Linked DNA regions of Homo sapiens: region 1 is linked to region 2. Evidence: promoter capture Hi-C in 16 types of primary human blood cells and fetal thymus (Javierre and others, 2016). All regions are on one chromosome and are shown on one strand. Each heading gives the region's core, a stretch centred on a gene start or on the middle of the fragment in contact. The rest is flanking DNA. Distances are from core to core; before and after follow the strand shown. Region 1 overlaps MEIOB (meiosis specific with OB-fold). Region 2 holds the start of ABCA3 (ATP binding cassette subfamily A member 3).

The links. Contacts are between HindIII fragments. The CHiCAGO score rates a contact against its expected background, and 5 or more counts as called.
Region 1: a contact is called between a fragment that was not itself captured here and the fragment with the promoter of ABCA3 in region 2, in 1 of 17 cell types (M2 macrophages). The highest score is 5.1, in M2 macrophages.

What each region holds. Positions count from the first base shown.
Region 1 is chr16:1,855,303-1,860,403 of GRCh38, reverse strand. MEIOB (meiosis specific with OB-fold) reads left to right here. Exons shown (of 14, transcript NM_001163560.3): 5 at 1; 6 at 2,474-2,669. Among named protein-coding and RNA genes, the nearest start is that of MEIOB, 14 kb to the left of the region's middle. The HindIII fragment of the contact is 1,121 bases long and covers 1,862-2,982 here.
Region 2 is chr16:2,339,360-2,344,132 of GRCh38, reverse strand. It overlaps ABCA3 (ATP binding cassette subfamily A member 3), which reads left to right and starts at 3,405. Exons shown (of 33, transcript NM_001089.3): 1 at 3,405-3,560. It also overlaps the pseudogene ABCA17P. RefSeq lists silencers at 3,095-3,554, 3,725-3,784. The HindIII fragment of the contact is 6,638 bases long and covers 1-4,773 here.

The DNA.
Region 1 (5,101 bases), core at 1,173-3,672, 480 kb after region 2:
GGTAAGCATCTGTCTAGCACAGAGATTGTGCGAGAATGATCATTACTAATAATGTTGTATCAGATTAGCAGAGATCTTACTAAAAGTGTTCTGTTTCTATTTCAATAAAAATGAGGAGTTTAATTTTCTCTTACAAAATTCATCTTTGATTATGACATAATTTACTTTGATACAGAGTCACATGATAAATGGCTTTGGTTTTAGTACTTTGATTCTCATTCTTAGATTTACAAAAATTTGACTTTGTCATGTTAAAACTGAATGAGGAGAAAAGATAAACTTTGGAAATTACATCTGTCTTTTTTCATGTCAAGGTATCCTTCTACTCACAGGCTTACCATCTTAGGGCAGATTCCTTCGAAGCAGAGCTTGAGAGGAGGACTCTTGTGGGAGTGGTTGGTTGAGGGTGAGCTCTCAGGGGAACCCTGCGAGGATAGACCAGGAAGCAGCTGAGCAGAGAAGTGGGTTCACCTGGAGCCTCAGCAGGAGCCGGGAGGGAGCTCTGGAGTGGGAGTGGCCCCTTAGAGCAGTGCCCTGGCTGTAGTCCATCCACTCCCCAAACCCGCAGGATGGGGCGGGGCATCAGCTCAAAGGCGGGTCTGGCAGTTCTGGAGAGAAGGGTGTAGCTGTGCCCTGTACCAGCCTGTAAAGGGCTCTTGGTGGGCACAGCAGTCTACAGCATTTACACTCGCATCAACTGTGACCCGTTCCCACCTTCTTTTCTGACCTCATCTTATGCCAGACTCTCAAGCCTCATTTCTCTGTAGCCACAGTGAATTTCTTTATATTTCATGAACACCGTGAACTCATTCTGCACTAAGAACGTTTGTATTTCCTTTTATTTTTATTTTTTATTTTTTACTGAGACAGAGTCCCACTCTGTTGCCCAGGCTGGAGTGCAGTGGCACGATCTCGGCTCACTGTAACCTCTAACTCCTGGGTTCAAACCATTCTCCCACCTCAGCCTCCCAAGTAGCTGTGATTACAGGCACACGCCCCACACCCAGCTAATTTTTGTATTTTTAGTAGAGGCGGGGTTTTGCTATGTTGGCCAGGCTGGTGTCGAACTCCTGACCTCAAGTGATCCGCCCGCCTCGGCCTCCCAAAGGGCTGGGATTACAGGCGTGAGCCACCGCGCCTGGCCAAACTTTTGTATTTTCTATTCTCTCTCTGCATAGAACTTTCTCCCATCTGTTTGACTATTTGCTTCTTTGGGTTATTGACTCACAGCTTAAATGTCATCTTCTTCAACCTTCCCCATCTACTCTGTTTGTGGTAGCGCTAATGGTCAATTACTGGGATTTTGCCCTGGCTTTTGTCAGCATAACCCAAGTCACCGTCTGAGATTGTTTGATTCATTGTTCTTGGGTCTCCCCCTCACATATGTGAGCCTCATGAGATCAAAGGTCTTGTCTGCCTTCTTCACCACCATATCCCTTGTGCCTAGCATAGGGTCTGGTATATAACAGATTCTCAGTATTCATGGAAGTGATGGATGGATGGTTAGATGGAGAGAATATTCTTGGTAGAGGGAAGAAACAGGAAACCTCCTGTCTTTTCCAGAACAGTTAATATTAGTTTGAGCCATATGAAACTGCTGATGTTTTACTATTTTTCATCTAGAAATACCAATTTCATAATGTAATAGTCTGATACGGCTGGAATGCAGGGCACGGGCAGGAGGAGAAGCTTAAGGTGGAAGCAGAGATATTTTACAGACAGCTTTGCTTTCATACTGAGTTATTTCCTTTGTGACTGGTAGCCACAATGATGGTCTTTGAGCTGGGAAATAATATTTTCATATTTGTGGTTTAGGAAGATCACTTTGCTTATGGAGGATGGACTGTAGGGGAATGAAGCTTAGTTAGGATAGCAAGGCAGTGGCTTGGGAGAGAAGTGATGAGGTAGGTAAGTGAGGCCGAGCAGTGGGGAGGAGGTGGGGCTGGGTTAGAGGACTGCTGGGGCACAGAGTGCAAGGGCCGGGAGGGACTCGGTGCAGGAGGGAGAGCTCCTCAGTTCGGGCTCACTGTGCCAGTGTTCTGCGTCTGCTCCATGCAGAGCTCAGTAGGGGTAGGAAAAACACAGTCCCTGACCTGAGGCACTAAGGCAGAACAGCCAGGTCCATAAGAGAGAGAAACAACCAGTCCTTGGGTTTGTATAACCCCTGAAAGTTTCAGAGCGCTTTTTTGCTCCTATTTTTTTGGAGAAGGAAACAAGCGCAGAGTCTTGGGCAAGATCAGACAAATGGTATGTTTAGAACCCCGACACGAATCAATTCTCAAAACATTTCCTTAATGAAAGTGCACTGTAAACAAAAAATGTTTTGCTGTATTATTCAATGTTTCTAAGAGTAAAAAGTATATATTAGTATTGTCTAAATTTCAATGAAAAATGTAGTTTAAATGTGGACCTGGAAATATTTTTCTTTCCAAAGATCACTTTCAAATAACTTTCTTGTGTTTTTGCAATTTAGCAACTGTAAACTGTTGCTCAGTGAGAATCACTCAACAGTAAAAGTTTGTTCCAGTTATGAAGTGGACACAAAGTTACTTTCTTTGATACATTTACCTGTTAAAGAGTCTCATGATTATTATTCACTGGGTGACATTGTTGCAAATGGACACAGTCTTAATGGGAGGATTATTAACGTGCTTGCAGCTGTGAAATCGGTAAGTTAAAACCCCGACAAAGCCAAGTGCAATCTGGCAGGGGAGGTGCAGTCACTTGATCTGTGTTTGGGATGGAGTGGTCACGATCAGCTGGGGTAACTTTTCTTCTCTATCTTGGTAGTATGCTGAATTAAGAAAACAGTAACACTTCTCATTAAAGGGAAACTAGCTTTTTATCTGTGGATGAGTAGTAAAATAAAATTGTATTTGAATGCTAAATGCAGTGTTCCACTCTGCTCGTAAATGATCTGCTAACTATAGGAGAACTTTTTATACATTGCTTAAACAAAGATGTAAATGGAAAGGGTAAGCTTATTGACTCGAAAATCTCCATGACCTTCCTTGAAGGGGCGTAGTTGAATAAGTTAAGGGATCAGTTCTGTGCCTTTGTGCTCAGAGCTGCCCAGCAACCAGGGAGGGAGTGGGAATACACGCTGCCCTGCTGTAGGGCTCCATGGTCTAATAGGTGCAGTGGGACCATGCTGGTGAGGTGCACGGGAGGATGGCCCTCCGTGGGGCACCAGGGGGGTGTTCCCTTCTGGTGCATCAGCGTCTGTCTGAATTACTGTAGCAAGTTCTGAGCTCTGTAGTTGGACAGACCAGAGCCACAAGGCGGAGATTGAGATGTAGACCTCAACGGTAAAGTTTCACAAAATAAAGTACATGAAAATTAGTCCAGGCACAGTGGCTTACACCTGTGATCCTAGCACTTTGGGAGACCAAGGCAGAGGGATCACTTGAGCCCAGTTCAAGACCAGCCTGGGGCAACATGGTGAAACTCCATCTCTACAAAAAATACAAAAATTAGCCGGATGTGGTGGTGTGTACCTGTAATCTCAGCTGCTTGGGAGGCTGAAGTGGGAGGATCACCTGAGCCTGGGAGGTTGAGGTTGCAGTGAGCCAAAATCATGCCACTGCACTCCAGCCTGGGCAATAGAGGGAGACCCTGTCTCAAAAAAAAAAAAAAAAAAAAAAGGCCTGGCGTGGTGGCTCATGCCTGTAATCCTAGCACTTTGGGAGGCTGAGGCGGGTGGATCACAAGGTCAGGAGTTCGAGACCAGCCTGGCCAATATGGTGAAACACCATCGCCACTAAAAATACAAAAATTAGCTGGGTGGCCTGGTGCGGTGGCTCACGCCTGTAATCCCAGCACTTTGGGTGGCTGAGGCGGGAGGATCACGAGGTCAGGAGATCGAGACCATCCTGGCTAACACGGTGAAACCCCGTCTCTACTAAAAATACAAAAAATTAGCCAGGTGAGGTGGTGGGCGCCTGTAGTCCCAGCTACTCAGGAGGCTGAGGCAGGAGAATGGCGTGAACCCGGGAGGCAGAGCTTGCAGTGAGCCAAGATTGCGCCACTGCACTCCAGCCTGGGCGACAGAGCGAGACTCCGACTCAAAAAAAAAAAAAAATTAGCTGGGCATGGTGACAGGTTCCTGCAGTCCCAGCTACTTGGGAGGCTGAGTCAGGAGAATCACTTGAACCTGGAAGGTGGAGGTTGCAGTGAGCCGAGATCGTACCACTGCCCTCCAGTCTGGGCGACAGAACGAGACTCCGTCTCAAAAAAAAAAAATTAGCTGGGCATGGTGGCAGGTACCTGGAGTCCCAGCTACTCAGGAGGCTGAGGCAGGAGAATTACTTGAACCCAGGAGACAGAGGTTGCAATGAGCTGAGATGGCGCCACTGCACTCCAGCCTGGGCGACAGAGCGAGATTCTGGGTTGATAAATAAATAAATAAAGAGGCAAGAGTAATTTCTTAATATAGAGAGGGATGATAGTCAAGAGACAAAAAAAAAAAAAAAGGAAAAAACACACATGCTTATGATAGTTCATGTAAGTAAATGTGAATTGCTTGTTATATTAAATGGTGACTGAGAGAACGTGACCCTTTCAGATGGCAGGGCCCTGGCTGTGGAGGACATGCCTGCCACCTGGGGAGCATCTGTATACTTTAGGGAGAAGGAATAAGCCCGCTATATGATCATCTTGAAAAACAGGAGAAGTCACTTTGTAGGCAGTTTATGTTCAATCCTATTCAGTTGTTCAAAGGAGTGCTCAATTGTTTGCGATTTCCCCAAATTCTAGACAGTGCTATTACGTTTATAATGAAGTAAGAATTGTCTACAACCCTGAATGAATATAGTAGTATAAGCAGGAAACTGCGGCAGCTTTCCCACCCCCTCAGTGAGTCTGGAACCTTTCATGTGTCACGTCACTTCTTCTCATGCCTTTCATCTCCCCTTTGGCTTTCAGCCCTCTTACATTTTCTTTTCTTCATACTTTTTTTTTCTTTTTGAGATGGAGTCTTGCTCTGTCACCCAGGCTGGAGTGCAGAGTGCAGTGGCGTGATCTTGGCTCACTGCAACCTCCACCTCCCGGGTTCAAGCAATTCTCCTGCCTCAGCCTCCCGAGTAGCCAGGACTACAGGCGT
Region 2 (4,773 bases), core at 2,156-4,655:
CAAGGACTTTTCTAAGTCCTGTACTTTACATGTTTTAATGCATCTAATCCTCACAACAATTCTGTGAGGAATTGTTATACAATCCTCATTTTATACTAGGAAACCAAGGCACAGAAAGGTCCAGTAATTTGCCTAAAGACATTAAGAGCTGGAATTTAATCTGAGGCAATATGGCCAGAGTTCAGTTTTAACCATTACAATATAATGCTTCCCAATCACTGAATGAAAGAATATGTGTACAGCCCTTGGTCTACAATGCGTCTCTGAATTATAACATCATTCCCAGGGAAACAATCAAAGAAGCCCTATTCTAAGATACTGTATTGAATATCAGCAATTTGGGTACTGTTGTACGATACAATAGATAGACAGATAGATAGATAGATAGATAGATAGATAGATAGATAGATAGATAGATAGATAGGGTATAGTATTTGTACCCCTTCAAAGAATTGGGAGCTTATTGGTTTAATTATATCTAGCCGACTAGTATAATGGCTAGGTTTACTGCCTTTTGTGAAGCTGTAAGATTTGTTTATGAGTGTCACCATCCACTATAATGTTTACCATCAATCTTGAGAGAAAAGAAATGTTTGAACCATAGTAACTTCAAGGAGTGTATCCTTCAATTTCTCAGCATGTATTCATGGTATATGGATGTGAGTGTTTCCATATAAGAGAGGGGTAGAGTCCAGGAGCCTGAACACGGAGGTTGTCATCTCAGCTCTACTGGGTGACTCTGAAGAAATTATGACCTTATCTGGGCCTCCATCTGGAAAGAAATGACTAGGTGGAGCATCTAGGTTTGCTTTATTTTTTCAGTAGTGGGCCTTGAGCACAATGTGATGAATTATCCAGGGATTGTTGAAGGGCATCAAAAGGGTCCAGCTCACTGTGGGCAACTGTTTTTTAACAGTTCAGAGCCTGAAATTTTTGGGCATAAGATACTTTTCCCAGTGGCCTTCACACCCTCCCACCTCATGATTGTGATTATAATAATTAACAATTAACCTGGCAGAGTTAAGAAAAAAGATATAAAATTAGTACCCTGCAATTGTCTGTCTTGATCTGTAAGGTCATCCTTCTTCCAAAATTCCTACCCTATCTTCCATCTAAGGTAAATTCTGAGTCAGCCAGTTCTGGTACTGGATTTGGTTACAGAGAATTGGGATCCAGTTTTGAAAAGGCCGGAAAAACGTGCAAGGTCTAACAAATTCAATTTGGAAATGGCAAGGATTGGTTTTGGAAAGAAAAATGACTGAGGATATGACCGGGTGAAGACAGGGCCAAGCAGCCAAGTTCACATCATTTTCTGGGACGAAGCAGAGAATGGGGAAGACATTTTGGATGGGGTGTTGCAGTCTGTGAAGACTGATGGGGAAAGGGGGTTTTTAGGATGTTTGCAGCGCATTAATAATCCACTCCCCCACCCATCCTGTAACTGCATTCAATTGTTTGGGGTTTTTTTTCCCCCTGTATGCTCATTACGGAGACTAGGCTATGTAAATCCCTAGCTATACTCACATTATATACTACCATTTATTTGGCATTTATGTGTCAGGTATTGTAGTAAGCACTTAAACATGCATTTTCTCATTTGACCCAAAAAAGAAAAGAATACACCAACAAAAAACCTTTGAGTTTGCTATTATTATTAATTACTATTATTATAATTTCAATTTTAGGGATAGGAAATTGAGACTCAGAAAGATAAAATGACATGTCTACATTAATTGGTGGGTCAAGATCTGAAGCCAGGTCTCTGTGATTCCACTGAACAAATTATTTAGCATGAGCCTCCTCCGCCCCAGGCACTCTAGGACCCTGGATCTAGGCATGAACCTGACGAAGTCCCTTTGCTCGCGGAATGGGCTATCCAGAACATCATCAGAGTGAAAGGTGCTATGTACACAGTAAAATGGGGAACGAGCCGCTCAAACCCTACTCCATCAGGACTCTTGGGGGTGGGCGATTTCCGCCCCCGGCCCGGGGCGTTGCATTAGGTCGGGGCCGTCGGGTCGTGGTGCCGGCGGCTGGCTGGGCGCGGGGCTGGCGGTGCGGGTCGCAGGCGGCTCCCAGCGGCAGGACCGGCAGCAGCCCTCCCTCACCCGGGGCGCCGGGACCACGGACGCACCTCACTGTGGTCCGGCCGCTGGCGGCGCTCGGGGACCCATTGGCCCCGGCCCGCGGCAACTGTCGGCCCCGCGCGGCGCCCGCCCTCATGCTGGAGCCCGGGAGTCCCTCACTCCACCTCTCCCTGCCACGCCAAGGGGGCCCGCCCCTCCCAGGCTCTCCTGCCTGGGGCGACCCAGTCCCACGACCCGGTCCGGCCCAGGGACACCCCGACCCACCTCCCCACTCCCGTCCCGTTAGACCGCGACCCGTCCCTGGGACCGCCTAATGTGACACGCCCGGGACCCTCCCTGCAGGCGACTCCCTGCAGGGCCCCCGCCCTGGACACTCCCTCCAGGTGACCCCGTTCCGCTCGCTCCGTGAGGTGACCCCGACCCTCTCCGGACCACCTCCTCAGGTGACCCCGACCCTCTCCGGACCCTCCCCGACCCTCCCCTCAGGTGAACCCGACCCTCCCCGGACCATCCCGTCGGGTGACCCCAACCATCCCCGAACCCCCCCACCCTCCCCTCAGGTGACCCCGACCCTCTCTGGACCCTCCTCACAGGCGGCCCCGCCCCACCCCGGGACCCTCCCGCCAGGTGACCCCGACAAGGCCGGGCCCTCCTGCCTGAGGTGACTCCTACCCGGCTGGGGACCCCCGAGGCCTCCCTCGCTCCTTAAGTGAGGGCGACTCCGCTCATCCCGGGACACCGCGCCTTCTCCTGTAAACTCGACGCCTGCCCCGACGGCCGAATTCCAGAAGGTTCCTCGCCGCCGCCTCGCCTTCGGTCGCGCCCCAGCGCCCGGCCAGAGGCGGGGAAGCCCTTCCCCCGGTGCCAGGAGTGACGAGGGCCCAAGGAAAGACAGTGCGTGAGGAGAAATGGAGAAACGGCCAAAGTCGAGTTTCCGGGTGTGAAGACTTCCACTGCTGCGAAACGCACGTGCGCAGAGTCATTCCTGTCAGAGGCCACCGCGCCCTCGCTCGGCTACCGCCGCTGCGCGCCCCCTGCTGGACATAGGCGCGGGCACAGAGCAGTGCGCAAGCACGGGCTGCCGCGCGGCCGGGTGCGAACCGCGTACTCGCAGGGTGGCTGACTGCGCACGCGCAAGTCAGAGCGCCCTCTGCCGGGCATGGGCGACATGCAGGGGGCACCGCGCAGGCGCGGGGTTGGGCTGGCCGGAGCGGCCGAGGCGGCCGGGGGTGGACCGGGCACCTGCAGGGGCGGCCGACTGCGCACGCGCCATCCGCGGCGCCCCCTGCAGGAGCCGGAGCGGCCGCTGCGTCCGCCAGTAGCGGGTTGCAGGCGCACCCTCCCCTCCAGGGCGGCCACGCAGCTGTCAGTGCCGCCGCCACTGCGAGGCTGGAGCGGAGCCCGGGTGGCCGAGGGAGGGGACCCCGCGAGAGGGCCGCGCGCCGGCCGCCGCCGCCCCGGCGCCCAGGCTCGGTGAGTGCCGCCGGGACCCGCCGCTCGCGCGCTCGTTCCCGGGGCTTGCGGTCCCCACCCGGGTCCGCCCTTCCCACCCTCGCCGGCCAGCTCGGGCCTCGGGCCCCCCCCAGCTCCGGCCTGGCCTGCGGGCCCCTCCCGCGACCCCGCATCCCCTCCGGCCGCGCCCGCGCCCGCCCCTCCTGCCGCGGCCTCGGCTCCGGGCGCTCCCTGCAGGTGCCGCTCCCTCAGCGTCGGCTCCCATCCGAGCCTTGGGCGTGTCCCGCACTGCGGGCAGTGCCTGAGCCCGCGCCGCGCGGGGAAGCTCGACCCTGCGGAGACTCGGCACGGCCCGGGCCCTCTGTGTGCGCCCAGAAGGTGGATATGTAGCGACCGACAGCCCCGGCCCCGAGGGATGCAGGCGTCCGCCGCGCACTTGCGGAGATGGCGCCGCTTTCCGGCCGCAGGGATGCCGGGCGCGCGGTGGCAAAGCCGCCCGGGTTGGATTCCGCCTGCTCCCACCCTCTGGTTCCGAGGAGCCTCCAAATCCGAATCCAAGGCCCACGGTCCGCGGCGGGCGTTTGCTGCGCCCTCCACTGTGTGGGAACGGGAAAGGGGAGCCGCTAGTCCAGGCGGAGGGGCTTGTGGCAGTCGCCGGAGGCCGCGTTCTCGGCGCCCTCGGTCAGGACGCCTGTGTGCATCGCGTCCGTGTGTCTTGGCTCTGTTCCAAGCCGGCTCCACGCTTCAGAAGGGCCGGGACGGCCTTATGGTCAGGGGCGTGGGGAAGGCGCTTGGTGTCTGTCGCACAGATGAAGCCATGTCCTCAGGGGGTAATTGCCGCTTGTTCTCCGGGTTACGTCCTGGACTGTGCACTCCGGGAAGGCGTCGATTGGATCTTGTTGGGGTTTGTGTTCCTGGAACTCCAGAAATGCCCGCTGAGTGAGTAGCCGAGACCCCGCGACAGCATGGAGCCCAGGCAGGGAGCACGTGGGAGAGGTTCACTCTTCTCCTGGGCATCCCGTCATTTTATTCAGATAGTCTGGGCGCTGCCTTTTGTAAACTTGAAAAGACTAAGACTGTTTTAGAAAGTTTGCCTCATGAGAAATGTAAGAGAAAGGGAAAAATAGATAAAAATGGATGTCATGGGAATCTCCCCCACACTTTCATTTTTAACTTCTTAGATAATTTTTCTTTTAAATTGAACCTTTGCTAACTCTACCTGAAAAACAGGACG